Regions from separate parts of the Homo sapiens genome. Here all the other regions are linked to region 1. Evidence: promoter capture Hi-C in 16 types of primary human blood cells and fetal thymus (Javierre and others, 2016). All regions are on one chromosome and are shown on one strand. Each heading gives the region's core, a stretch centred on a gene start or on the middle of the fragment in contact. The rest is flanking DNA. Distances are from core to core; before and after follow the strand shown. Region 1 holds the start of PTGER2 (prostaglandin E receptor 2). Region 2 overlaps LOC105370500 (a long non-coding RNA gene). Region 3 overlaps STYX (serine/threonine/tyrosine interacting protein). Region 4 overlaps STYX (serine/threonine/tyrosine interacting protein). Region 5 overlaps PSMC6 (proteasome 26S subunit, ATPase 6). Region 6 holds the start of PSMC6 (proteasome 26S subunit, ATPase 6). Region 7 overlaps ERO1A (endoplasmic reticulum oxidoreductase 1 alpha).

Region 1 (3,753 bases), core at 546-3,045:
TATTACAAATGCTTAGCAAGATGTTCCTCCAAGTATTTCCTCTAGTTATCATTATGGTTTTATAAACTTTCATGGCCACAAAGAGTTACATTCAAATATATAAATTGGGAAACCTATAAACTAGATGTTTGTTGGACTTTTAGGACAAATAACAAATGCTCTAAACTTCTGCTTCAGGGACCCTTCTCATCTGGGACCATTTTCAATGGCAGCTGGAATGCTATGGGTTGGGTACTACATTTTGCCCTGGCAGGAACAGAAGGCAAGCATGGAGAACCAGCACCAGTGGATGAGAGGTACAGGGCAGCAAACTGCAGCTCCAGGTCGTCAGGCTGGAACAGTGACAGCCATCCTAAGGTGGAAGGGGCTGCCTCTTTCTCAATTACTAAGCCAAGATAGGCAACAGCGAGAAAGGGACACTGCCCAGGGCTAGGATGAGGAGATTGGCTAGCTTAGCTGAGGCCCAGGACTCCCTTTCGGACGGTCTGTATTATTGTATAAGAAACTCTAGCCTAGCAACGCCCATAAGCCAGGATAAGGAAGTGGGCTAAAGAGGAGGGGAAACTAGTGGGGAAGGCTACAGATCTTTACAAATTAGGACATATTTTTACAAGTTGCAAAAAGTTTGTAGGGCGGTGGAAAGGGTGGAGGCGTCAGGGGAGAGCATGAGAAGGCTGAGCAGAGCCGGGCTGTGGAAACGTAGGGAGTGACTTACCGTGAAAGGCAAGGAGCAGACGGCGAAGGTGATGGTCATGATAGCCAGGAGAATGAGGTGGTCCGTCTCCTCCGCCATGGACACCCTTTCCCCTCTCCTGCGGGCCCCGGGGCCGCCCCGGCCACTGCCCAGGGAAGGTCCGCAGCGGCTTCTCCGGCTTCGGCGGTGCATGCGGATGAGGTTGAGAATGACACTGAAGTTGCAGGCGAGCACCGAGACAATGAGAAGCAGCAGCAGGGTGGCGTACAGCTGCAGGTAAGCGGTCCGCCCGTGCCGGATGAAGCACCAGGTCCCGGGGCAGTACTGGACGTACTGCCCATAGTCCAGCAGCGGCAGCGAGCAGAAGAGCAGGGAGACTGCATAGATGACAGGCAGCACGGCCAGGCCCCCGGAGCGCGAGACGCGGCGCTGGTAGAAGTAGGGGTGCCCGATCGAGAGGTAGCGCTCCAGGGCCATGGCGAAGAGCATGAGCATCGTGGCCAGGCTGAAGAAGGTCATGGCGAAAGCGAAGTAGGTGCACGCGCGGCTCTCGGGCGCCAGTGCCACCAGGGTCTGGTTCCGCGCGTACGAAGCCAGTACCACTGGGCTGATGAGGCAGGTCCCGAGCAGGTCGGTGAACACCAGCTCGGTCACCAGCACGTGGAACAAGGAGAGGGAGCTCCTGCGGCCGGCGCTGCACCCCACGTCCCCCCGCCAGCGGCGCGCCAGCAGCGCCAGTGCTATGAGGTTCCCCAGCACCCCGGCCGAGAACATGACGGAGCTGATGGCTGGGCTTTCGCCTGGGGGAAGCCACTGTCGCGTCTCGCAGTCCTCAGACTGGGAGTCATTGGAGGCATTGCCCATGGTGGGGTGCCTGGAAAAGAGATGCGCCCTCCTCTCCCGGCCTTTACCTGGGAGGAAGAGGGTCTGAGAGCCGGAGCGTTCCGAGACTCAGAGGAAAAAGGGGAGGGACCGAAATCCAGAGCCCCCTTCCCGCACCCAGCGCGCCGACGGCGGCTTGCCCTGGGTCTCCCGCCGCGCGCCGAGTGGCGGCTCGGCTGCTGCATCCGAGCGGCGCTCGAGGCTCCCGCGCCTACCCGCGCCGGCCAAGGCCGGGAGCCAGAGCCTAGGGGAGCCGTCGTCTCCGCCCCCGCACTGTCGGGGGGCGGGCCCAAGAGTGCTGGCCAGGCCTTGCAAGTGCGAGTGTCCGCGAGCTGCAGGGGAGGCAGGACGCGTCACACTCGCGGGGGCGTTCCGAGTCCCTGGGGCGCGCCGGCGGGGAGGGAGAGAAGGAGTCTGAGCACCCGCTGGGCGCGGCACTGGGCAGAGGCGCGCGTGTTGCCGGTGTACTGAAGCTGCCCGCGACCGGCGGGAGCGGCGTTTCTCGCTTCCTCGGGGTCCGGTACTCGAAGCGCACGGCAGTCTGACCTCGGCTGGGAAGCGTTAAGCCCCAGCAGAGGGCTGGGAGGGAGTGCAGGAGCACTTGCGGGGTCTGCGCAGAATACACAGAAGATCGGGGCAACGAGCAAAGCAAAGCAACTCACCAAACAATGAAGTTAGGAGAACCCAATCCCGTGAAATGAGCGGAACAAGGGAATAACAGTGCAAAGGCAGCTTGAAGTAAGACCAGAATGTTTTGCTTTGTTTTTACTATTCCCAGGAAGATACACTAAGAGGTTGGGACAAAAATTGGGATGAAGCGTAAAGCAAGTGTGTCCATCCAAGGAACCAAACCACACAATGCGCACCACCGAGCGGCCTGTTGCACTGCCGCTTTGATTCGGTTACTAGCATTTCACCGTTTCCTATGTCAACAGCATAACGGATAACCACTTGTTTAAGCAACCATTAAAAAAAGAGGAGTGTGTCTTATACAGAATTGTGTTTGTGGATACAACATGAAAACCATTGCACATCACTGTTCTGTCCTTAAGCTGAGCCTTGTAAGAAAATGTTGATATTTTGTTTAGCCGTTTATCTTTACATGTTGTTAACCACGTAGTATCCATCCAGAAAGACTTGTTCCTGGCAAAGTGTATTGGTAAGTGGCCAGTTTCAGACTGGAGCTGACAGTAATGGTTTCCTACCACATATTGTCATAATTGCAGAGTCGTGAAAATGGGCTGATATTTAACACAAAACAAAACAAAACAAAATCCAGTTTGGCAGACAACATAGGTAATTGTGTTCTGTAAGAAGTCACATTCACTTGGGGAAGGGAGGCCAACTGGGAAGTGAAGGGTCTGATCTGCCTAGGGAACTGGCAAGAAAGACAGTCATAACGTGGGAGGAAGCAAAGATTGCCTGCTGAAGAGCCTATCTTGCTACAGCCTGCTTACTCTCCATGAATATTTTTTGCCAACTTTGATGATTCTGGCCTGGGGATTGGAATGCGGAGTTGGGGGGGGTGGTTCCCACTAGAACAAGCATAATTTACTGGATCGCTTGCAAAGTTTACAGGCCGGTTTTCACATGTCAGCAGGCACTACTTCAATCCCTAAACTTCTCATGGCATGGATTCCTAGGAAAGAGGATCTTAACTCCTACAGTTTTTCTTTCAAGCTGTAAACTCTGCAGGTCAGTAACAACTTATTACCAATCTTTGCCATCCATCTCTGACTATTCCCCTACTCCAACATTCCCCCATCTCACCCCAAGCAATGGGGAAACATCAAACTTAAATCAGAAGTATTTCTTAATAGGAAAACACTATGATTTATAGCATAATTCTGCACTGCAGTTTTACTATTAAATAAGGGATTTTAGATTCACTGAATTTGCACAGTGCTTATTTTCCGAATATTTTTATACCTTTTTAATTTTCATAAGGCCCCTCACAACAAAAACCTACTATTTAACCTTTCCTATATATTTGTCTCTAGCTTTTCTTTGGATGGGTACCTGGTGGCAGGCCGGCCCCTGGTTTTTGTGAATACGAGAGCAAGAGTGCAGTTGAAGATCCTCCCCCAGGCCCCTGCCCCCTTGTCTTCCTAACCCCTGACTCAGTCTTGCACCACAAGGAGTCTTGCACAGAAATATGTGGAGAGTATAGTTCAATA
Region 2 (3,753 bases), core at 738-3,237, 500 kb before region 1:
TGTAAAATTTGAAAAGACAATTAAAATACACTGCAACAATAATATAGATCAGGAGGAAGGTAAATGGAGTTGAAGTGTTCTAAGGTTCTTAGACCAAAGGTAAAGTATTGCTTAGCTACAGACTTTGATAAGTTAACATGCACGTTGAAACTTCTAGTAACCCCTAAAGAACAGAAACAGTGTGCTTATAAAATCCAAAGGGGAAAACATGTAATGATTATTCCAGAAACCTCAATCAATTCAAAAGAATTCAATAAAGAAGGGAAAAAGAAATTGAACAAATAGAAATCCTGGATGGCTTACTAAGCAAATTTTATCAAATATTCAAGAAATAAATAATTCCTAATTGTTTCAAGGGATAGCATAGCATGTTAGTGCAAAACTTACAAGAAAAGGAGAAAAGATAATTATCCACCAATCTCATTCGCAAACATATATATAAAAATCGTAAGCAAAATAATAGCAAATCAAATCAAGCAATGTATAAAAAAAGGAAAATATGATGTAACCAAGTTGGGTTTATTTTAGAAGCACAGATTGGCTTCACTTTTTTAAAAAAACAGTAATTCACTACATTAACATATTGAAGTGAAAAATCATACAAGTATCTCAATAAATACAGAAAAAAGCATTTAATAAAATTCAGTATCTATTTATGACTTCAAAAAATCTTAGCTAAAAAGAAATAGATTTTTTTTTTCTTTTGACACAGGGTCTTTCTCTGTCACCCAGGTTGGAATACAGGGGCACACTCTTGGCTCATTGCAGCCTCAATCTCCCAGGCTCAAGGAATCCTCCCACCTCAATCTCCCAAGTAGGGGGGACTACGGGAGCAGGCCACCACACCTGGCTAATTTTTTTTTTGTTTTGTTTTTTTGTAGAGACAGGTTTGCCATGTGGCCTAGGCTGGTCTTGAACTCCTGAGCTCAAGCAATCCACCCACCTCCACTTCCCAAAATGCTGCGATTACAGGCGTAAGCCATTGTGCCTGGCCTGAAATAAATAGACTCTTACCCAATGAAATAGGGCAAGGAGGCCAGGCGCAGTGGCTCAAGCCTGTAATCCCAGCACTTTGGGAGGCCAAGGCGGGTGGATCACGAGGTCAGGAGATTGAAACCATCCTGGCTAACAGTGAAACCCCGTCTCTACTAAAAATACAAAAACAATTAGCCGGGCGTGGTGGCGGGCACCTGTAGTCCCAGCTACTCGGGAGGCTGAGGCAGGAGAATGGTGTGAACCTGGGAGGCAGAGCTTGCAGTGAGAGAAGATCGCGCCACTGCACTCCAGCCTGGACAACAGAGCAAGACTCCGTCTCAAAAAAGAAAAAATAAAATTAATGAATTAAAAATTAAAAAAAAGAAATATGGTAAGAAAAAATATGTAAGGATTGGAAATAAAGAAACAAAGCTATCGTTATTCTAAAATGATATTTATAATCCAAAATAATACACTATCAACAAGGTTACTGGATAGAAAAATCAATATACACAATTAATTTTTTTCTTTATACTGGCAATTAGTAGGTAGAAAATAAAATTTTAGAATGATACAATTTCTAATGGCATAAAAGCATGAAGATGTGGAAATAAATCTAAAACTAGCTGCGTAAGACATACATGGAGAGATCAAATAAGACCTAAATAAATATACAGGGGCTGTAAGCTTCCTCATTGTAAAGATGCTGAGCTCCACTACTGACCATGAAGTAACTGGTACAGAACATCCTCTCCTATGGTAAACAACAAGAAAACTGGACCAAAGATATGAAACAACTGTTTTCTCATACTGTGACAACAGGCAGGGAAAGACTGAACTTTAAGAGAGGGAAAACAAGATGAACCTTTCAATTGCCCCAGCTTCTTATCTAGGGACAACTTTGAGCTTAGAGGACAGGGAAGAAAAACCTAAAGAAAGCACAATGGCGTCATTAAATTAAGGAGCTAGAGACTGGATCTGTGGGATGTGAGAGAGCTGGAATCTGTAGGGTAAAGTACCAGAGAGGAGGAAGCTACACAGAGAAAGAGCTCCCGAAATTGACACAGGGGTCTTCTTAGGTCTCTGGCTGAATAACCAGTCTGCATATTCATAGAGTGAAACTCCACACACTGGGCAAAGAACAATTGCCAGAGGCTAGAAACTGAACAATTCTCAGAGCACAGAGGACTAAGAGGTGCTCAAATCCTACTGAGCCAGAGAGACCTCACTGAGCCATAGGGCAATCAATAAAAACCCCAGAAGGATCAGGGCTTAAAATAAAAGCTAAACTAGCCCTACAGTAAAGGCTATTCTAGACACACTCTAACGAAGCTTAGAGGCAAATAAAAAAAAGATCTGATTTCATCTAAAGTCACTTCCACAGCTTGATCTTTTTAAAGTTCTTACACTTTTTTATTTATTTATTTTTTAAGACAGAGTTTTGCTCTTGTTGCCCAGGCTGGAGTGCAATGGCACGATCTCAGCTCACTGCAACCTCTTTCTCTCAGATTCAAGCAATTCTCCTGCCTCAGCCTCCCGAGTAGCTAGGATTACAGGCATGCACCACCACACCCAGCTAATTTTGTATTTTTAGTAGAGACGGGGTTTCTCTATGTTGGTTAGGCTGGTCTCGAACCCCCAACCTCAGGTGATCCACCCGCTTCAGCCTCCCAAAGTGCTGGGATTACACGCATGAGCCACCGTGCCTGGCCATTCTTATACTTTTTATTTTCTTTATTGGATTCTATAATAATATACTCAATTACTTTCTATTGTCTTCCCTATGTTGTACCAACCTCCAAAACTAAATATAAAACAAGAAAACTATTTTGAAGGAAAAAGCATGTTTTATCACAAGCCATTATTGCTAATGTTTATGTGGGACACCTGTTTTACAGTAACAAAACAAGGTTTAACTGAATTCTTTCAGTCTTCTTAAAAGGTATAGCTCAAAACAATAATATAGAAAAGTTGAAAACAGTAAGGAAGAGAATAGCAGGCAAATACTCAACAAAAAAAAGGTAGCATAGATCTATTAATATAAGAAAAAAGCAATATTTTAAGGCAAAAGCATTACTAGAGATAAAAGCGTCACTAGATATGATAAAAATAATCCAAATCCAAGAAAGAGAGGAATTAGAGACAAATCCCACAATCATAATGAGAGATGTTAACATCTATTTCTTAGTGATAGGTCAAGCAGACAAAAAGATAAAATCAGCTGGGCAGGTGGCTCACGCCTGTAATCCCAGTGTTTTGGGAGGCCAAGGTGGGAGGATCAGTTGAACCCAGGAGTTTGAGGCTGCAGTGAGCTATGATCATGCCACTGTACTCCAGCCTGGGCGACAGAGTCAGACCCTGTCTTAAATACATATATACTTACATAATACATAAAATCAACAAGGATATAGAAAAACAATATTTTTTAAAGCCAATTCTTCTCAAATTGATCTATAGATTCAGTGTAATTTTAATCAATCTCCAAAGTTTCTGTCTTATTTTTGTGTAATTTGACAAGCTGTATCTCATAATATATCAATATATTACTACAATCTAAGACTAGAGGAACAATTATAGCAACATTGAAAATCTTAATATTGAAAATCCTAAATAAGTTCAGTTAGAAAATGGAAGCTGACAGCATGTAAGAAAGATATACCCATTACCAGGATGGGTATATCTCACAAATCCAAGATTAATATTAGAAACAAAACATGTGTCGGCTGGGCGCGGTGGCTCACGCCTGTAATCCCAGCACTTTGGGAGGCTGAGGCAGGC
Region 3 (3,753 bases), core at 395-2,894, 450 kb before region 1:
GGGAAAAGGAATTGATTACCAGCTACGTCAGGATAGTGGTTACTTTACAGAGGGAGAAACAGATTTGTGCCTGAGAAGCGGCATGAAAAAGGCTTTTGGTGTCCTGGTAAACATTCTGTTTCCATACTTCGGCAATAGTTACATGGATGTTTATTTACATTTTATGCATTTTCTATATTATAATTTCACAATAAAATTTTCAAAAAAAATAGAACCATCCTAAGCTAGGCATAGCAGATAACTCCTCTGTGGGCCAGAGTAGGTACAGTTCATAGCTCGCTAAAAAAGGTGACCTAAAATAAAACCAACAAGCCCTTGCATGGTATGACAAAGTCAGGAAATATGAGTGGCCTATGGGAGAAGGTGGGACATATTAAGGAAAATGTGAACACCTACACCTGCCATTTTTTGCAAGCAGCAGGCTGTTTAAGTATGGTAAGGCGGAAGTGAAATTTGGTTGCATGTAGCCAAGCATCAGTTGATCTTGGATAGCTAAAAGTAAAGGCTAAATCAGCAATTCTAGCCTGGATATACATGAGAATCACCTGAGGCACTTTAAAACCTATATACCTAGGCCCCACTCTCACAGATTTTGATTTCATTGGCATGGGTAAGGATTCCCCAGGTGATTCTAATATGAATCAGTGTTTATCAATTTAAACAAAATAAACCTGTGATATAAGGAGCTCTGCTTCTTACTCACTGATTCATGCCACCAAAGGAACCTGGGAAAATTCAAGCTGTCAGCCTTCCCCAACCACTCCTCTGGCCCCTTTCCCACAATTTTATTCTTGGGTAAATAGCTGATCTAAGACGAATACCTCCAGTTCAAAGATGACCAATAATCAAGAAGGAACCAGTTAGGTCTTACTCAAAGATTTTGCAAGAAAAAACAAAACAAAACAAAACAAAAACAGAAAAGCAAGAGTATAACCAAATGTCATAAAGAAAATGCCATAAAACTTATACCATGAAGCAGATGAAAACTATGAACAAATTAATCAAAGAAAATATGGCAGTTATGGGATTGAATGTTTGCATTCCCCTCATAATTCATATGTTGAAGTCCAAACACTTAATGTGGGGACTTTGGCAGGTGATTAAGTTGGGATGAGGTCATGAGAGGACTGGCCCTATGATGAAATGAGTATCCTTCTAAGAACTATGCTCCCACCTCAAACCACTTACACTTATTCCTCTACCTCAAATGCTTTTCCCCAAATACGTGCATCTCTTTAGGTCTTTGCTCAAATATCACTTTTCAGTAAGCCCATTTCTGACCACCCTTCTAAAAATACAATTCTCGTCCCACCTTCCTTACATGGCCTTATTTTTCTTGGATTCATTACTTCTGGCCTACTACATTTTGTTTGTTGTCTGATTCTCCCACTAAATAAGTTTCGTGAGGTCAAGGATTATTGTCTGTTTTGTTCTCTGCTTTACTGTCAGTGCCTAACTAAAACAATGCCAAATAAATATTTAATGAAACAATGCAGCATGGGACATGGAAAACAAACGTGAGAAAAATCAAGTGGAAAAAAAAAAAAGAACAAAGCTGCAAATAATTACAGAGAAAATAGCAAATAACAAAGAAAAAAGGGAACATAAACTATACCGGGGTAAGGGGTATACTAAAAAGAAAAAGAAACAGAACAACCAAAAGGGTAAATACACAATAGAAGACAACTTTCCTGAAATCAGGGAAGGCTTGAATTTGCAAGTGGTAAGGGCACACTGTGACTCAGAAAAAAACTGATGTAGAGCAATCAACAAGATACATCTTGGCCGGATATAGTGGCTCATGCCTGTAATCCCAGCACCTTGTGAGGCCAAGGTGGGAGGATCGCTTGAGCCCAGGAGTTTGAGACCAACCTGGAAAATATGGCAAAACCCCATCTCTACCAAAAATAATTTAAAAAACTAAGCCAGGTGTGTGGTCTCACGTCGTAATCCCAGCACTTTGGGAGGCCGAGGCAGGCAGATCACCTGAGGTCAGCAGTTCCAGACCAGCCTGGCTTACATGGTGAAACCCTGTCTCTCTACAAAAAATACAAAAATTAGCTGAGTTTGGTGGCACATGCCTGTAATCCTGGCAACTTGGGAGACTGAGGCAGAAGAATCGCTTTAACCCAGGAGGCAGAGGTTGCAGTGAGCCAAGATTGCCCCATTGCACTCTAACTTGGGCAACAGAGTGAGACTTTGTCTCAAACAACAACAAACAAAAAACTTAGCCAGGTGTGATAGTGTGCACCCATGGTCCCAGCTACTTAGGAAGCTAGGGTGGGAAGATCACTTGAGCCCAGGAGGTCAAGGCTACAGTGAACCATGATCGCGCCACTGCACTGTAGCCTGGGTGACAGTGCGAGACCCCCTCAAAAAACAAAAACATAAAAAACCAGGATACACCTTGATAAAGCATCTTATGGTCATCTAGATGAGGGTCCCCACCCCTGGACTGCAGACCCCAGAATCGGTCCATCGCCTGTCAGGAACCAGGCCACACAGCAGGAGGTGAGTGGCACTCCAGGGAGCATTACCATCTGAGCACCACCTCCTCTCAGATCAACAGCAGCATTAGAGTCTCACAGGAGCGCAAACCCTATGGTAAACCTATCCCTCCCTATGGTATGCGAGGGATCTAGGTTGCACACTCCTTAACTAATGCCTGATGATCTGATATAGAACAGTTTTGTCCTGAAACCATCTCCCCCGCCACCCCATCCGTGGAAAAATTGTCTTTCATGAAACTGGTCCTTGGTGTGAAAAAGGTTGGAGACTGCTGATCTAGACAACCTTCTCCTGATACAAATCAATTCACCTAAGGGGGGAATCTTAAAATTGGTCTGCCTTCAAACTTCTCTAAAACAATATTTAGGCCAGGCACGGTGGCTCACACCTGTAATCCCAACACTTTGGGAGGCCGAGGAGGGCAGATCACCTGAGGTCGGAAGTTTGAGACCAGCCTAGCTAACATGGTGAAATTCCATCTCTTCTAAAAATATAAAATTAGCTGGGTGTGGTGGCATGTGCCTGTAATCCCAGCTAATCAGGAGGCTGAAGCGGAGAATCACTTGAACTCGGGAGGTGGAGATTGCAGTGAGCCTAGATTGTACCACTGCACTCATTCCAGCCTGGGCGACAGAGTGAGACTCCATCTCCAAAAAATAAAAAACAAACAAAAAATATTTAATATCAGGTCTGTGTACAAAATCACTAGGGAAAAAGTATTAAATACCTATTTTATATCTAGCCACTGTCATTCAAATATAAGGGCAAAAGAAAAATATTTTCCAATATGCAAAGGGATAGTTTCCATGGGAATATAGTTTCCATGAACTATTCTTAATAAAGTCCAAGAGTTTAATAAAGACACTGGAACAGGTAATAGGATTGGCTGAATCCTATTTAAATGTAGGATTAAGGGCTGGGCGCCGTGGCTCACGCCCGTAATCCCAGCACTTCGGGATGCTGAGGCGGGTGGATCACATGATCTCAGGAATTCGAGACCATCCTGGCCAACATGGCAAAACCCCGTCTCTACCAAAAATACAAAAATTAGCTGGATGTGGTGACATATGTCTGTAATCCCAGCTACTCGGGAGGCTGAGGTGTGTGAATCGCTTGAACCCAGGAGGCAAAGGTTGCAGTGAGCCGAGATCACACCACTGTACTCCAGCCTGGGCAAGAGTGTGAGACTCTAACTCAAAAAAAAAAAAAAAAAAAAGGAAAAGTAAATAAATAAAACCTTAAAAA
Region 4 (3,753 bases), core at 675-3,174, 430 kb before region 1:
CATTGAATCTTTTAGAAGTGGCAAGAACATTGCTATATTTATTAAAATGAGATCTACCTATTTTAACTGCAACTGAGTAAGTCCATTAAAGTTTGACTATGTAGAATATCTATACGGATTGAATATCCCTTATTTAAAATGCCAGGGACCAGAAATATTTCAGAGTTTGGATTTGTTTGTTTTGCCTATTTGCATTATACTTATAATTGAGCATCCCTAATCCAAAAATCCGAAATCCGAAATACTCCAGTGAGGATTTCCTTCGAGTGACATACTGGTGCTCAAAAAGTTTCAAATTTCAGAGCGGGGATACCAACTAGCTCTCTAAAGTCTGGCTGGCAAAACAGAACTAAGGTGAATGACTTTCAATTAACACACACAGTCTTACCCTTGATAAGGAAGGTTTAACTAAACATTGAAATTCCTTATTTTGGGCTTTAACTACATCTCATATTGTTCTGAAGCTATGATTAGCAATTACAGATGTCTAGTGTTTTAGAGAGTAAATAAGTTATTAAAGGTCAGTTATTTGGTAAATCTTTCAAACATACAAATTTCATGAGGAAAAAACAAAAACTCTGATTTGTGGTGAAACACTTGAGAACTACTGGTCTAGTAAAATAGGGAAAGAGGAAGGTACTCCAGAGTGACAATTACTGTTAACAGACAGTATTTGTGGATGCTCCCTAAAATAAAACTCTTTATTACTAAAAAACTTACCCAAGAAAAGTTGGTTAATAAAAGTCTCTCTTGATGAATCTAACAAAGTTCATACCTTGCTTTTCATAGCAGATGAATATGGGCCTAAGAACAATCCAGGTAAAATTTCCTAGAAAAAAAAAAATTTGAGGTATTTACCATCAGCAATTTAAATCTATAAGGCTATATAAATAAGACAAACCTTATTTGGCCAAATCAAAAGCAGCACAAGATACAACAAGATTGGAACTATTATCTATTTTTTTAATCTTTTTTTTTTTCTTTAAAAAATAGAGACGAAGTCTCACTATGTTGCCCAGGCTGATAAGGAACTCCTGGGCTCTAGTGATCCTTCTGCCTCAGCCTCCCAAACGGCTGGAATTACAGACATGAACTCCTGTGCCTGACCTAAAACTATTATCTATAGTTAATAGAAGCAAATTATTACTGTAACATAAAAATTCCAAATTCAAATATTTGCCAGTTGACAAAATTTCAACAAGTATGTACCTTCCAGATGTTGAATTCAAATTTATTTTATGTAAATTCAATACAGAAAGCTTTCAGTCTGGATATATCATACCCTAGATACTAACAGTAACTTTATAGTTCAGTTCTATAAGTCATAATTATTTGTATATAAAACTGATTTCTTCCACCAGGCTTTTGTGGGCAGAAATTACATTTAGTCATCTTTGCATTCCTCCTAACACCAAGTAAAATGCCTCATAGGTACTCACCTATTTTTTCAAAGTGAACTTTCATTAAGAGAGAAAAGTAACAGATTTTTAGAAGTCATGGGATTCCCAGGAACAAGATACTGCTTAATCCTGGGGCAAACAGACTTGACGGTAAATGGTATGAAATGCAAAAGAAAATGAACTGCTATGAGGGTTAGCTATCGTTTAATTCATTCCAAACTGAAAGTATTCAATTTGATCTTCTAGAAGACTTAATTGTGGAAGTTGATTAAAAATCGGACACAAAATGAACAATGCTTATTTGCTGTACAGACAACTCTCCCTAACTTATCTAGACAAACAGAGAAAGCAAACTGCTTTCAAAAGGAATACAAAGAAAGTATCCAATTTTTCACGTGAGGAAAAAGAAAGTGACTCATTGGCCAGGCACGGTGGCTCATGCCTGTAATCCCAGCACTTTGGGAGGCCAAGGTGGGTGGATCACCTGAGGTCACTGGATCACCTGAGGTCAGGAGTGTGAGACCAGCCTGAACAAGGAGAAACCCTGTCTCTACTAAAAATACAAAATTAGCTGGGTGTGGTGGCGCATGCCTGTAATCCCAGCTACTCGGGAGGCTGAGGCAGGAGAATCACTTGAACCCGGGAGGTGGACGTTGCGGTGAGCCGAGATCGTGCCATTGCACTCTAGCCTGGGCAACAAGAGCGAAACTCTGTTTCAAAAAAAAAAAAAACAAAAAAAAAACCAAGAGAAAGTGACTCATTAAGCACATACACCTATTACTACGTTCCTCTTTCTAATTTCCCATCGTTTTAAGATCCAAGATTAACCTTAAATATTTAAAATAATTATTTAAAATACATAATGATGAACCTACAGATCATGAAATCAGCAGGTCTCAAATCCTATAAACTAAGGTTCTTATTATGATAATAACATGGGTTGGTTTGAACAAAGAAAAGGTTGCCATACCTGCATCTCTCGTCTCATAGGGTAGGTCCACTCCTGGGAAGGAAAACATAAGAATAAAAGTAGATAACATTTAAAAAGTCACCCAATTAAAGGCTAAAGATGTGACACACAAGTATGTAGATTTTTTAAAGTTACATTATACTTTAAGAACATTTTATTAAAATAGCAGACTTGGTTTCACAAACATCTGAAAATTGAAGTGACAAGAAACAAAGCTTAAAGCATTCTTTAAATAACTAGGCTTCCAGAATTGTTATGTTACTTCATAAAATGGATGAAATTACTCATTAAACTTAAGAATAGAATAGATATTCCAGAAGATTCTCCCAAAACTGATCTTCTAAGTCAGAGATGCCAATAGATTTTTTTTGTTTCTCATGCCAACTCTAATCAACTGACAGCAGATACCTAAAACACTGTGTGGTCCAAGACAGGAAGAAGAGTGTCTGATCAACAAATAATATCTGAAATGGATAAAAGAAGAATGCTATGTCATACGTACTTGCCATCTCTGATCTAAAATGCCAAATGCTTATCAAAGAGCCTTTCCTTCATCTCACTTGGGCCTAACATTCTTGTCTAGTTCAATTATTTTAACACATATCACAAAACATAAGAGACTTCATTTTGTCTTTGGAATGCAGACCAATATAAAGAAGCTGTAAAACAACACAAAATGTCAATGGTAAAAGATAAAAAATATTTTAAAACTTAGAAAAAAAGTATAGTGAATTGAAATGAAGAATCGAAATAGACTAAAAGGCCAGGCTCTGTGGCTCATGTCTGTAATCCCAGCACTTTGGGATGCCGAGGCAGGCAGATTGCTTGAGCTCAGGAGTTTGAGACCAGCCTGGGAAACAGGGTGAAACCCCTTCTCTACTAAAAATACAAAAAAATTCGTTGGGCATGGTGGAGCCTGCCTGTAATCCCATCTACACAGGAGGCTGAGGTGGGAAGATCGCTTGAGCCTGGGAGGCAGAGGTTGCAATGAGCTGAGATCACCCCACCACTCCAGCTAGGGTGACAGACTGAGACCCCGTCTAAAAAAATACTATAGTACAGATAGTCCTCATTTGTCAGTGGGTTGACTGCATTCCAAAAGTTTCTAAGTTGGTTGCTTAAAACTCAGAATTATTATTAGTAATTAGGTTTCTGAAGTAGTCTGGAAAATATTTTTTTAACCTTTTATTTTGAAACAATTTTAGGATTATAGAAAAGTTGCAAAAATAGTACAAGGAATTCCATTTACCCTTCACCCAGATTCTCTAAGTCAGAAAAGTATTTTTTTTATTTTTTTATTTTTTGAGACCGAGTCTTACACTGTCATCCAGGTTGGAGTGCAGTGGCGCGATCTCGGCTCAATGCAAGCTCCGTCTCCCGGGT
Region 5 (3,753 bases), core at 396-2,895, 410 kb before region 1:
ATTACAATCTAACCAAAGCAATCTTCTGATAATAATTTGGTCTGGTTTACATTTTGGAAAGAGAATGTCATAAATTACTCTAACTTGTTCAAGCTATATGACAGTTTACCTCTAAATAGTTTAGTTTATTGATAACGCTCTGTGAGCATGATTTACCCTAATTTGCATTGACAGCATTTCTAGACGTGAACAGAAGTATCTGACCTGCATATCTGATGCAGATACTGACTCACAGCATACCCAATACCCATGAAGATACCTGTACTGAGAAGCCCTCCCTGAGCAGCCACTTTAAACACTGTGTTGAATTTACTAAGGCTAAACATGATATGAAAAGCAAGAGGAAATCACATATTCTAATACTTAAGAAAATCTATAACCTATAAAGTCAGTAACTATACTGTAGAAGTTTATTTTTTCTATTTAAAGATTCTGTATGGAAGACAAAAACTAAATGATTCTAGGTAGGGTATTAAAGCTACTTGGTACTGGAAATAAAAATAGCATCACACAATTTTTACATACCATGTAGAAGTGAAAAAAATAGTATCACACAATCCACAGAGAATTATATTTAAATACTACATTTTACACAAATGGCATGATCACATAATTCATAAATCAATCTTTCAAAACACTGCTCACAGACTAGTATTAGACAACATACACAATTCATTTTGCAGCAGATACCTCTGGTGCTGGCCCATTCTAATTCCAGCCACAGGTGTGGTAGGCAATTCTGTAGCACCTCAGACTTACTTTAGGGGGCCAGTGTTCTATTACATGCCTCTCCTTCCACATTCTGCCCTAAGGCAGGTAGAAGTGCAAAGGAGTCAACACTACCAAGGACAAATCTCATCCAATGGGGGATGAGTACTGGTAAATCAATGTTCTAGTCTCCCAACTTTCAGCTGGGTGATCCTGGAAGGCATTCTGTATGCTTCTCTGAGATCTAACCTCCCTTTCCTACAGCACCTACCTCAATGGTGCACCCTCATATTAGCTTTCCCTCTTTCCATCTCACTTGCCCTGCTTCTCCTATTTCCTGGAATCGATTCCTAAAAGAACAGCATGAACCCAAATCCTTGCAAAGTCTATGCTCCGCTTTCAGATAAACTCAAAACAGTTTCAGCAAATTTTAAAAATCAAAATCAATAGTAAAACTGTACTTTAAACCCTTACCTGCTTCAGTACAAACATTTCTCAGATCTGCTCCATTAAAGCCATCCGAAAGCTTCACAATTGCTTCATAATCTGTTTAGAAAAAATACTGGAAATTAGTTTTAAAAATTAGACCTTTACTTGATTTATGCCCACATCGAAAATTTAAACTGAAGAGCTTACTTTGAGTTTGATCAGCTAGACATCAGCTCTGTTAACTTTCCACAATATTAATATCCAAAAACTAAGACTTCTGTTAAATAAACCAGCACCAAGAAGAATTAGACACACCCCTGAAACTTTAAAAACAGGAAATATCACCAAAATCTCAAAATATCTTAATCTATTTTTATACAGTGAAATAGCTATGCACATGTGAACTCCAGATACCTGTTAAGCTGTGACTCTTATCAAAACTGTAATCAAATCTTGGATTTGAATAAACCTATAACACTCAAAACCAATTATAACAATGGAATTTACTTTGTTTACTTTAATCATACAAGCCAAATATAAAGTATAGCAAAACTGAAATGTAATCATACATAATTGTATCACATGGAATTTTTAAATGCTACAGCATGCATTAGCTAGCTTCTCTGGTTTCTGTGCAAGATTCAAGTGGTGAAGTATCAGATCTATGGTAGCAGTAATAAAGTGAGTTCTCCATCCACCCACATAACAGACATGAATCAAAGAGCTATAGGATTGGGGTAGCAACAATGGATCTGATACAGAATAGGAAGAGAAGTAAGACAGCACAGGCTACTACAGTTTGAATAACTTTGATGATGCACCGTTTGGTCAGGCAATATAGGGCATGTCGTTCTCTATTTGAAATCACACATATATTCATGAATTGTCTTTAATCAGGTTTAAGTTCATTGTAAGCTTCCTGAGAGCAAGAATTCCCAAGGCTAGCACAGTATCTGGCATCTAGCAAGAGCTCAGTATTTGTGGAAGAAACCTATACATTGACATCCTTTGTTCAGTTCGGTCTTTCCAGCTCAAAACTCTCTAACAGGGGCAATGAAGATAGTGAAATTCAACAATCAGCTATTTGTCATTATTCTGGACCATTAACTTCTAAAGAGTTTTTAAGGCTGCCTGGAAATTATACTAGATTTCCCTAGTCTGGAGGTCAGCAAACTTTTTATGTAAAGGGCCAGAGAGTAAATACTGTATGCTTTGCAAGCCATATGGTTTCTGTTGTAACTATTCAACTCAGCTATTCCAGTAGGAAAGCAGCCATAGACAACAGATAAATGAGCATGCTTGGGTTACAACAAAACTTTGTGTGTTTCCAAAAACACAGGGCAGGCAGAATTTGGTTCACAAGCCATGTTTTACTGGCCTGCACCCTAGTCCAATCCCTCACTTCCATAGATAATGACTTTATACCTTCTCCTTTGTCCTCAAATCTCTAAGAACACTTCCCTATCTTCATTCTGAACGTGCATTCTACTTCACTGAGAAAACAGAAGCATTCAGAAAAAAACACTTCCACAAGTTCCTGCACTATCTAAGAACCTGTCATCATAAGCATCTATGTACTCTGCCTTTCCTCCAGTCTCATAAAAGTACACATATATATAGGGCCAATCCCTCTTCAAGGAAAGAACATTGCCAATTTCTCTTTCTCCTAGGTCATTCCCAGTAGCATTATTAAAAAAAAAAAAAAAAGGGCAGGGGGGTCATAAACTCTTCCATCTTATAGAAAACTCTGCCAACTCCTCATCGGCATTCCCCTTCTACTTCTTCTGCCCCCTCTGTAGAACTCTTAAAAGAAATGTCTAAACTCAATGCCTCTCCTCCCAATCTCTCTGAAACCCATCTGAAATAGGCTTTCACCTCCACCACTCCCAAGAAGCTACTTTTGACAAGATTACCAATGACCTCCATATAGTTAAATCCAAAGGTCTACTCTGAGAACTCTTTATCTGACCTATTGTCAGCATTTAACAGGAATCAATTTAAAAAACAAACAAACAAACAACCAGGCCGGGTGCAGTGGCACACGCCTGTTATCCCAGAACTTTGGGTGGCCGAGGTGGGCAGATTGCTTGAGCCCAGTAGTTCAAGATCAGCCTGGGCAACATGGTGAAACCCCATCCCTACAAAAAAACAAGCCAGGGTTGGTGGTGTGTGCCTGTAGTCCCAGCTAATCAGGAGGCTGAGGTGTGAGGATCATTTGAACTTGGGAGGCAGAAGTTGCAGTGAGCTGGGATCACACCATTGCACTCCAGCCTGGGCAAGAGTGAGACCCTGTCTCTAAAAAATAAATTACCTTCTTGGTAAGGCCTTCCCTGTGCTAATCCTCCCTGTCATTTAAAAACATATCCTCATGCCTGGTCCTGGCACTTCCCTAATTTCCTATCCCCCTTTTCTTTTTTTTTCCCCTGAAACAGCGTCTTGCCAAACTGGAGTGCAGTCACATGATCATAGCTCCCTGCAACCTCAAACTCCTGGCCTCAAGCGGTCCTTCTGCCTCGGCCTCCAAAACCATTAGGATTACAGGAGTGAGCCACCATGCCCGCCCCCCACTTTCTTGCTTTATTTTTCTCCATAGCACTTATCATCATCTATTATACT
Region 6 (3,753 bases), core at 773-3,272, 390 kb before region 1:
GACCTCATACAAAATTAACTTAGGCCATGGTACAGTCCATAAGTAACAGTTCTGAATGTCTAAATATAAACACAGGTAACTGATGATATCTAACACTTTTAAGTCCTCTTTAAAAATGACATTAAAATAAAATGTCTGTTTTCCAGTTCTAAAATACTTTTATTTCTAAGTGGCTATTAACAGATCTGACTGAGACAATGTAATACAGTAGAAAGTACGGAATGCCAGGAGTCAAAGCCCATGGTTTGAATTCAGGCTTTGTTAATAACTAGCTATGTCTGAACAAATCATCCTTGTGAGTTATGGGCATAAATGCTCCACCTGCTTGCCTCAAGAATTAGAGACAATAACTTACATGAAACTGCTTTGTCAATCATCAGGCACTATACAAATATAAAGTATTACCTGTCGACGACAACCCACAACATATCTTGGTCCATTGGTAGCTTTAACAATGACTAGAAGAAAAAACATAAAAGAACTAATTGAAAAATAGAAAGTAAAAAAATACATACCCACGTTGACAGAGGGTTTAGTTGTATTTCTGTCCTCCAAGGAGACATTAGTTGAAGGAAAACTTAAGTCTATTCAAAAATACTCTCTCTCTCTGCATTATTGTCATTAAAATAATAAGCATTTCAAAAGTGAGAGAGAGGTGGACTGTTTCTTTACTAATTAATAAGCTAATTCATCACTCACATTTTTCTTCAGTTAACTGTTTAAGCACTTCACCCACGATCTAAGGAAGAAAATAAAAAGCATTACTTTTTGGCAACAGCTAAATAAAAAAGCAAATTACCATCACCCCCTATTCCCCAAACTCCATCACCTACCTGCCCAACACTCTGTAGGGCCTTCAGATCATTTTCAGACTTTTCATACTGCTTGGTAAGTTCTTTTAATTGTTCCCTTACTGAAATAATACAATTTGAACATTTTTAATTGAACAGTAATCTTAGTGTGTTTAAGTCGCTACGTCTCACTTTACTGTTTACGTAAGTCTACTTCACTTTACCTAAGTTTCACATCCACTGTTTCAAACCATAAAAGAAATAATGCTGTTTGTAATGAGTAGGTGGCATGTATAACAACAAAATGTTACAGAGAAAGCACCATACTTTTACTTTGTTGATCGGCAATACTTGTTTAAGCACATCTTAAGTTATAGTCTTAGAAGATATTGACACCCTGACACTTAGGATTTGCGACTACAAATCCGAATGATAATCACTTAGACCCTTCCTCACCTCTTCACCTACCCACGTGGATTGTTCTCTGACATTCTACCCTAAATAAAGTCAACAAATGCAGTTCTCCACAGAATCATGTAATTATGGTCCTCCATTTAATTAAACTACTCATGCTTTTCAATGAAAATGCACTGGAAAAAAAAGTTAAGCACTCAGGAGGTAAGGGAAATTTGTATGCCTGATACAGTACAACACGAAACACAAGACGATATGGGTTATTATGACAACTGGAACACTTCTCTCTTAAGCTCCGCGGCCGTCTTTCGACTCCAAGAACAAGCCGACTCCCTGAGTCTCATCTCTTGTTTGAGCTTACTTGACTCAAGCGCCTTCCCCTCTCCAAGTCCCGGGACTCCACCAAGACTGCCCTTCTTGCACCCTAACCTGGGAAACATCCTCGGCCCACTTCCCCACTCCTCCTCTACTTCTTTTTCATTTTCACCTCAAGGCCGCCGATGTTCTGTCACCCGGGCTGGACTGGGCCATTTCTACACCCGAAGGAGTGCTGCTCCACAAGCTCAGGGCCGGATGACAAAGCGCCTTGTCCCTGGCCCTAGGCCTGGTCATCTCTAAGGCTCGGTTGCCGGGCTCGGCGAAAGGCTTCTGCTTTGTCAGAGGCAGAAGCGAGTCGAGGCACTTGATTAAATGGAAAGAAAGGTGCACTCACACTCCTTAAGACGGCCGTCGATCTCCTTGTGTTCAAGCAACTTCTTGCGGTAGTCCTGAAGCGCCTTATCTCTAGGGTCCGCCATGATGAGAAGCCGTCTCTCATAGGGGATGCCGGGAATGGCCATGGCCGTCCGGGCGGGGGAAGGGGCGGGGCGAGGGGCGAAACCCTGCCTGGAGGGGTGGGTTCGCCCATGAGCCCTCCCCTTCCGGTTGGCCCCGTCTTTCTACTCCACTTCCACCTCTATGTCTCGGTTCACCTAGAGCGCCGGCATACACTGAAAGAGGCCTCCACCTATACCGTTTCTTGCAAGCCGAGATAGGTAAAGCAGGACTCAGTTATCCCGGTCTTCCCCTGAGAGGCCTCAGTATTAAGTCACTGCTGTCCCGGAAGTATAAAAGGCTCTGTAATAAACTGAGATGGAAGTGAAGTAGGAAATGTGTAATACCTCAAAGGAGTTCCGATGGCCTGTCGACACAACACAGATGGCCTTTGTTATAACACAGTACTGTCCAAGACCTCCACGTGCTGGAGAAGTAGACAGTTTTATTCATCCATTCAGTCAGTGAATGAGGTATTAAAGGTAGATCTGCTTATCATTTGATAGGAAATAATAATAAAAAAAACTTCAGAGTTTAACAAATACTGTGAAGGAATTAAAACACGGTGAGAAGTATGGTGGGAAGAATTAATCTAGAACAGATATCTGAGATGAGAAGGAGCCAGCCTTGCAACAACTGAAGAAAACCTAAACAAACAGTGCAAGTCCTGGAGTGGAGTGGGGTGGGGGTTGTGGGTAGAAAGCTTGACTCACTTCCAGGAACAGAAAGGAGGCCAATGAGACCAGTAGGGGGTGGGTTGTAGAGATGTGGGGTACAAGATAAAGATGCTGAAGTAGGCTGAGGCAGGAACTTTGAAGTCTGATAGAACCTTCAGATTTATGTATTTATTTATTTACTTTTGAGATGGAGTCTTGCTCCTGCCGCACAGGCTGGAGCGGTGACGCGATCTCAGCTCACTGCAACCTCCACCTCCCGGGTTCAAGCAATTCTCCTTCCTCAGCCTCCGGAGTAGCTGGCATTACAGGTGTGCGCCACCACAACCGGCTAATTTTTGTATTTTTAGTAGAGACGGGGTTTCGCCATGTTGGCCATGCTGGTCTCGAACTGCTGACTTCAGGTGATCCACCCTCCTCAGCCTCCCAAAGTGCTAGGATTACAGGTGTGAGGCACTGCGCCCGGCCAGATTTTTTTTTTTTTTTTTTTTTTTTTGAGTCTGTGTCTCACTCTGTCACCCAGGCTGCAGTGTAGTGGTGCGATCTTGGCTCACTGCAACCTCTGCCTCCCGGGTTCAAGCGATTGTCGTGCCTCACCCTCCTGAGAAGCTGGGATTACAGGCGCCCGCCACCACGCCCGGCTCATTTTTGTATTTTCAGTAGGAATGGGGTTTCACCATGTTGGCCAGGCTGGTCTCCAACTACTGACCTCAAGTGATCCGCCCGCCTCAGCCTCCCAAAGTGTTGGGATTACAGGCGTGAGCCACGACGCCTGGCCAACTTTCAGATTTTTGTGATTTGGGGAAAATTACATACTCCCTCAATATCTCTGTAAAATGATCATAATAATTGCACTTATCTAATGGGGTTGTCATGAGTATTAAATAGGATAATGTGCCTAAACACAACATCTGCCACATGGCATGTACTCAATAGTGTTCTTTTGAATAGATATTTATTTTAAGGGTAGTAATGACTCCAATTTTTGCATTACAGGTCCTCATTGCTATACCTCTTGCTATCATTGTTCCTGGGGACAATTAATTGTTGTCCAAAAAACA
Region 7 (3,753 bases), core at 598-3,097, 350 kb before region 1:
ACTCTGAAAACTGAACATTTCTCCCCCTGCGTTTAGCAGAGGCTCATTTAGTGTGAGTATATGTTTCACTGTAGAAATATTTACGTGTTTGAATAAAGATTGCTCCCCCAGGTCCAGCTGGAGTAATATGCGATATATGTTGCATGTACTGTATTACCTTTGTAAAATCTGGAAAGTTCATTCCAGCCGAGACACGCATGGTCCCAGGCATGTTGGATGAGGGGTATAGACCTATATCAAGATTTGGACTAGTGAAGGAAGGGGATAAGATGTTCTCCCAACTCCCTTATTTTGCCATCTTTTCTACAAGGATTTTTTTTTTACCTTAAATATTGTTGTGAGATAAAACTAAATTTATAGTATGCAGCTATAATTTTTTTTAGTCCTCCACTGTTAGAAAAAGGATGGTAATATTTTAACCTTAATTAACATCCTTTTGTGACTACAATGTGCAGCACCAGGTGAGAATCAATGATTCATTTCTTATATGGTAGAGTTTGGTGAATCACTTGCCCATTTGTATTAGTGTCTTCTGTTAAAAAAAGCTGAATATTTTAAAGAAAGCTTTAGCAGGAATAAATAATGGATGTAAATGGTACGTGAAATATAGAAAGTATTTTTAAAATCCTAATTGGAAATTTGAGCTTTTGTCAAAAACAGGTTCTATTCAGTGATAGAAAACAGCATATCATATAGGTTTTGCAGAACGCATGTTTTCTGCTTCTAGGGCTGGATATTGGCATTTTCCTATAAGGGCCAAATGGGCTCTTAAATGTCTTTTCTTAGATTTTACAAAACATGTTTGACTAGTTTTCTATGAAAAACTTCAGGTTCTATTCAGTGATAGGAACCAGCGCATCATAAAAATTCTTGGCACAAATATAATTATAGTAATATTTAATATAATTATAGTATTACTTCAAATATAATTGTATAATTATAATTATAATTATAGTATAATTATAAGATTTGTAATATAATAATATAGTAATATTTATTTTTTATAAGCTTGAAGAAGAATGAAGTATTTATAATAAGTAGAATTATGAGGCAACAAATGTTTATCTCTAGGTAGAATATTTAAAAATTTAATCATTTCTTGGTGGTTAGTTTTCTCAAAGTCCTGGATACTGACCGTTGTTTATGTATTTTATTTTATTTCATTTTTATTTTTATTTTTTTTCCGAGGCAGAGTTTCATTCTCGTTGCCCAGGCTGGAGTGCAATGGTGTGATCTCAGCTCACTGTAACCTCTGTCTCCCGGGTTCAAGCGATTCTCCTGCCTCAGCCTCCCGAGTAGCTGGGATTACAGGCATGCATCACCATGCCCGGCTAATTTTGTATTTTTAGTAGAGATGGGGTTTCTCCATGTTGGTCAGGCTGGTCTCGAACTCCTGACTTCATGTGATCCACCCGCCTCAGCCTCCCAAAGTTCTGGGATTACAGGCGTGAGCCACCATGCCTGGCCTGCTGTTTATATATTTTAAACATCAGGGTTTAAAAAATGAATTTATTATAATTTATATGTGGCACTTGCCTTTAGTATTAATTGAAATGAACAGTTATCCATTCCTGAACTAGATGATTCCATGCTAATTTGTTTTTTAAGTCCTTATATTTTGTTTTTCTAGTTATTTTAATTGCCACTTCTGCATTGAACTCTGCTATTTTAAGATGCCGTCATTGTACTGCTTCTAGAAGCAAATTTCCCCCTAATTTATGCTTCTAATATACTGTGAATTGGAGTAAAAAATAACCAAGCTTAGGGTTTTTTTTTGTTTTTGTGGTTTTTTTTTAATAATAAAAATAGGTATAGTTGAGAGCTTGATGGACTCTAAGCACTTTTGTGCTCATATTTTTGTTATTGACTTTGGTTGCATTGAGACCGTTTTTGTCCACTTTTTAATTCTTTGTTGGCTCATACTGTTAAGCTTTATATATGAATAAAGTATTATTATAGTACCAAATAATTTCCCAAAGCCACTGGAGGACTATGGCCCATCTTTTTTTGAGACACAGTCTCACTGTGTTGCCCAGGCTGGAGTGCCGTGGTGCAATCACGGCTCACTGCAGCCTGGACCTCCTGGGCTCAAGTGACTTTCCCACCTCAGCCTCCTGGGTAGCTGGGACCACAGGCACGTGCCATGATGCCTGGCTAATTTTTGTATTTTTTATTGATGCCTGGTGTTTCACCAGGTTGCCTGTGAATTTTAGAATCACTCCTGGGCTCAAGCAGTCTGCCCCCAGGCCTCCGAGAATGCTGGGATTACAGGCATGAACCATCGTGCCCACCCTGGGACCGACCATCTTTTTTGTTTTGAAGTTATAACACATTATAAATGATAAATAAGTAACAGGGTCTGGATTCTAGCCTGGGTGTTCTGGCTCCAGAGCCCATGCTCTGGCTGTTCTGTGATGTTGGATGTTTAGGTTGCTTCCAATTTTCCCTTTTATAAATAATGTTGACACAGAATCATGCTGCATTGTAACTTTTGCTTTTGGCCAGATTGGATCTGCTGGTGGTCATCTAAGAAGAAAGTATTTGGTAACACGCAGTGTACAATACTAACACTCCTTCATTTACTGTAGTTATTGATGAACTGCTGTGGTTAATGTGGAGGGAAATGTATGTTATATTCTTTGTCTGAATAGCTTATGATAATTGAATTACCATGTTTCTTTGATTCTAAAATTCACGTATTCCTATTTTTACAATTCCTAAATCATAATGTTTTTGTAGCCAGTGTGTACAATTAATGTGGCTGTGTGTGTTTCTCTCTCTTTTCCTTCCTTTCTTTTCTGAGACGGAGTCTCGCTCTGTCACCCAAGCTGGAGCACAGTGGCGCAATCTCGGCTCACTGCAACCTCCGCCTCCCGGGTTCAAGTGATTCTCCTGTTGCAGCCTCTCGAGTAGCTGGGACTACAGGCGTGCACCACCACGCCCGGCTAATTTTTGTATTTTTAGTAGAGACAGGGTTTCACTATGTTGGCCAGGCTGGATTCGAACTCCTGACCTCAAGTGATCCGCCCACCTTGGCCTCCCAAAGTGCTGGGATTACAGGTGTGAGGCACCACACCCGGCCTCCTTCCTTTGTTTCTCCTGAAAAGTTGTTTTAAAATTCCTGACACATTGTTATATTTGTGGTGCGTTAGAATCAATGGAATACAGTCTTGTGTAGTAGCTTTTTAAGGTAACTGAGGATAAGAAAGGTTTAATAAGACATTTTATTTTACAGACATTCAGTCCCCTGAAGCTGAATATGTAGATTTGCTTCTTAATCCTGAGCGCTACACTGGTTACAAGGGACCAGATGCTTGGAAAATATGGAATGTCATCTACGAAGAAAACTGTTTTAAGTATGTGTCATTTTCATTTAGAAAAATTCCTATAAGATGTGGTGATTTCTCTTTATAAACAAAATCATAATGATTTAAAATTAAAAATCAAATTCACTTTGTTAAAAGATGTGTTTGTACAAGGAAACATGACTATTCATTAATCCAGTTTCCTTCTGGGGAAATATATAGACGTGAGTTTCCACAGATTTTTCCTTTAGACCTTTATGGGAGTATTGTAGGCCCTTGACAAATGTTCCTTGAGTCGATTATAGGATCTCATTTTATAGTTAAGGTAACCTAGAGCTGGAGAGGTTTGCTTCATTTCCCAAGATCACACAGTGGCAGTGTAGAGAAAAGAATATACAACTCTTAATTCTCTTTTTGGTGCTCTGTACACCCTTGTCTGTGGCTTTAA

Evidence for each region. The method cuts DNA at HindIII sites, captures the fragments that hold promoters and counts their contacts. A CHiCAGO score of 5 or more calls a contact.
Region 2: a fragment that was not itself captured here is called in contact with the fragment with the promoter of PTGER2 in region 1 in 1 of 17 cell types (megakaryocytes); the score reaches 5.7 in megakaryocytes.
Region 3: a contact is called between a fragment that was not itself captured here and the fragment with the promoter of PTGER2 in region 1, in 1 of 17 cell types (megakaryocytes). The highest score is 5.5, in megakaryocytes.
Region 4: a fragment that was not itself captured here is called in contact with the fragment with the promoter of PTGER2 in region 1 in 3 of 17 cell types (megakaryocytes, monocytes and total B cells); the score reaches 5.7 in megakaryocytes.
Region 5: a fragment that was not itself captured here is called in contact with the fragment with the promoter of PTGER2 in region 1 in 1 of 17 cell types (megakaryocytes); the score reaches 7.2 in megakaryocytes.
Region 6: a contact is called between the fragment with the promoter of PSMC6 here and the fragment with the promoter of PTGER2 in region 1, in 12 of 17 cell types (megakaryocytes, monocytes, naive CD8 T cells and 9 more). The highest score is 11.0, in megakaryocytes.
Region 7: a contact is called between a fragment that was not itself captured here and the fragment with the promoter of PTGER2 in region 1, in 2 of 17 cell types (megakaryocytes and total CD8 T cells). The highest score is 6.1, in megakaryocytes.

What each region holds. Positions count from the first base shown.
Region 1 is chr14:52,312,354-52,316,106 of GRCh38, reverse strand. PTGER2 (prostaglandin E receptor 2) reads right to left here and starts at 1,795. Exons shown (of 2, transcript NM_000956.4): 1 at 716-1,795. The coding sequence starts at 1,558. RefSeq lists enhancers at 901-1,040, 1,061-1,210, 1,445-2,004, 2,005-2,565 and a silencer at 1,731-1,840. The HindIII fragment of the contact is 17,361 bases long and covers 1-3,753 here.
Region 2 is chr14:52,813,530-52,817,282 of GRCh38, reverse strand. All of the region lies in intron 1 of LOC105370500 (a long non-coding RNA gene), which reads right to left. Among named protein-coding and RNA genes, the nearest start is that of GNPNAT1, 24 kb to the right of the region's middle. The HindIII fragment of the contact is 645 bases long and covers 1,665-2,309 here.
Region 3 is chr14:52,764,638-52,768,390 of GRCh38, reverse strand. The region is part of intron 9 of STYX (serine/threonine/tyrosine interacting protein); the gene reads right to left. Among named protein-coding and RNA genes, the nearest start is that of GNPNAT1, 25 kb to the left of the region's middle. The HindIII fragment of the contact is 4,705 bases long and covers 1-3,753 here.
Region 4 is chr14:52,743,502-52,747,254 of GRCh38, reverse strand. It overlaps STYX (serine/threonine/tyrosine interacting protein), which reads right to left. Exons shown (of 11, transcript NM_145251.4): 2 at 2,371-2,403; 3 at 776-829. Among named protein-coding and RNA genes, the nearest start is that of STYX, 15 kb to the right of the region's middle. The HindIII fragment of the contact is 1,326 bases long and covers 1,262-2,587 here.
Region 5 is chr14:52,721,466-52,725,218 of GRCh38, reverse strand. It overlaps PSMC6 (proteasome 26S subunit, ATPase 6), which reads right to left. Exons shown (of 14, transcript NM_002806.5): 13 at 1,183-1,254. Among named protein-coding and RNA genes, the nearest start is that of STYX, 6.8 kb to the left of the region's middle. The HindIII fragment of the contact is 818 bases long and covers 1,237-2,054 here.
Region 6 is chr14:52,705,469-52,709,221 of GRCh38, reverse strand. It overlaps PSMC6 (proteasome 26S subunit, ATPase 6), which reads right to left and starts at 2,022. Exons shown (of 14, transcript NM_002806.5): 1 at 1,918-2,022; 2 at 834-913; 3 at 700-739; 4 at 406-458. The coding sequence starts at 2,002. RefSeq lists enhancers at 1,662-1,711, 1,732-1,981, 2,282-2,341, 2,362-2,471. The HindIII fragment of the contact is 4,351 bases long and covers 1-2,723 here.
Region 7 is chr14:52,665,978-52,669,730 of GRCh38, reverse strand. It overlaps ERO1A (endoplasmic reticulum oxidoreductase 1 alpha), which reads left to right. Exons shown (of 16, transcript NM_014584.3): 7 at 3,236-3,356. Among named protein-coding and RNA genes, the nearest start is that of ERO1A, 28 kb to the left of the region's middle. The HindIII fragment of the contact is 170 bases long and covers 1,763-1,932 here.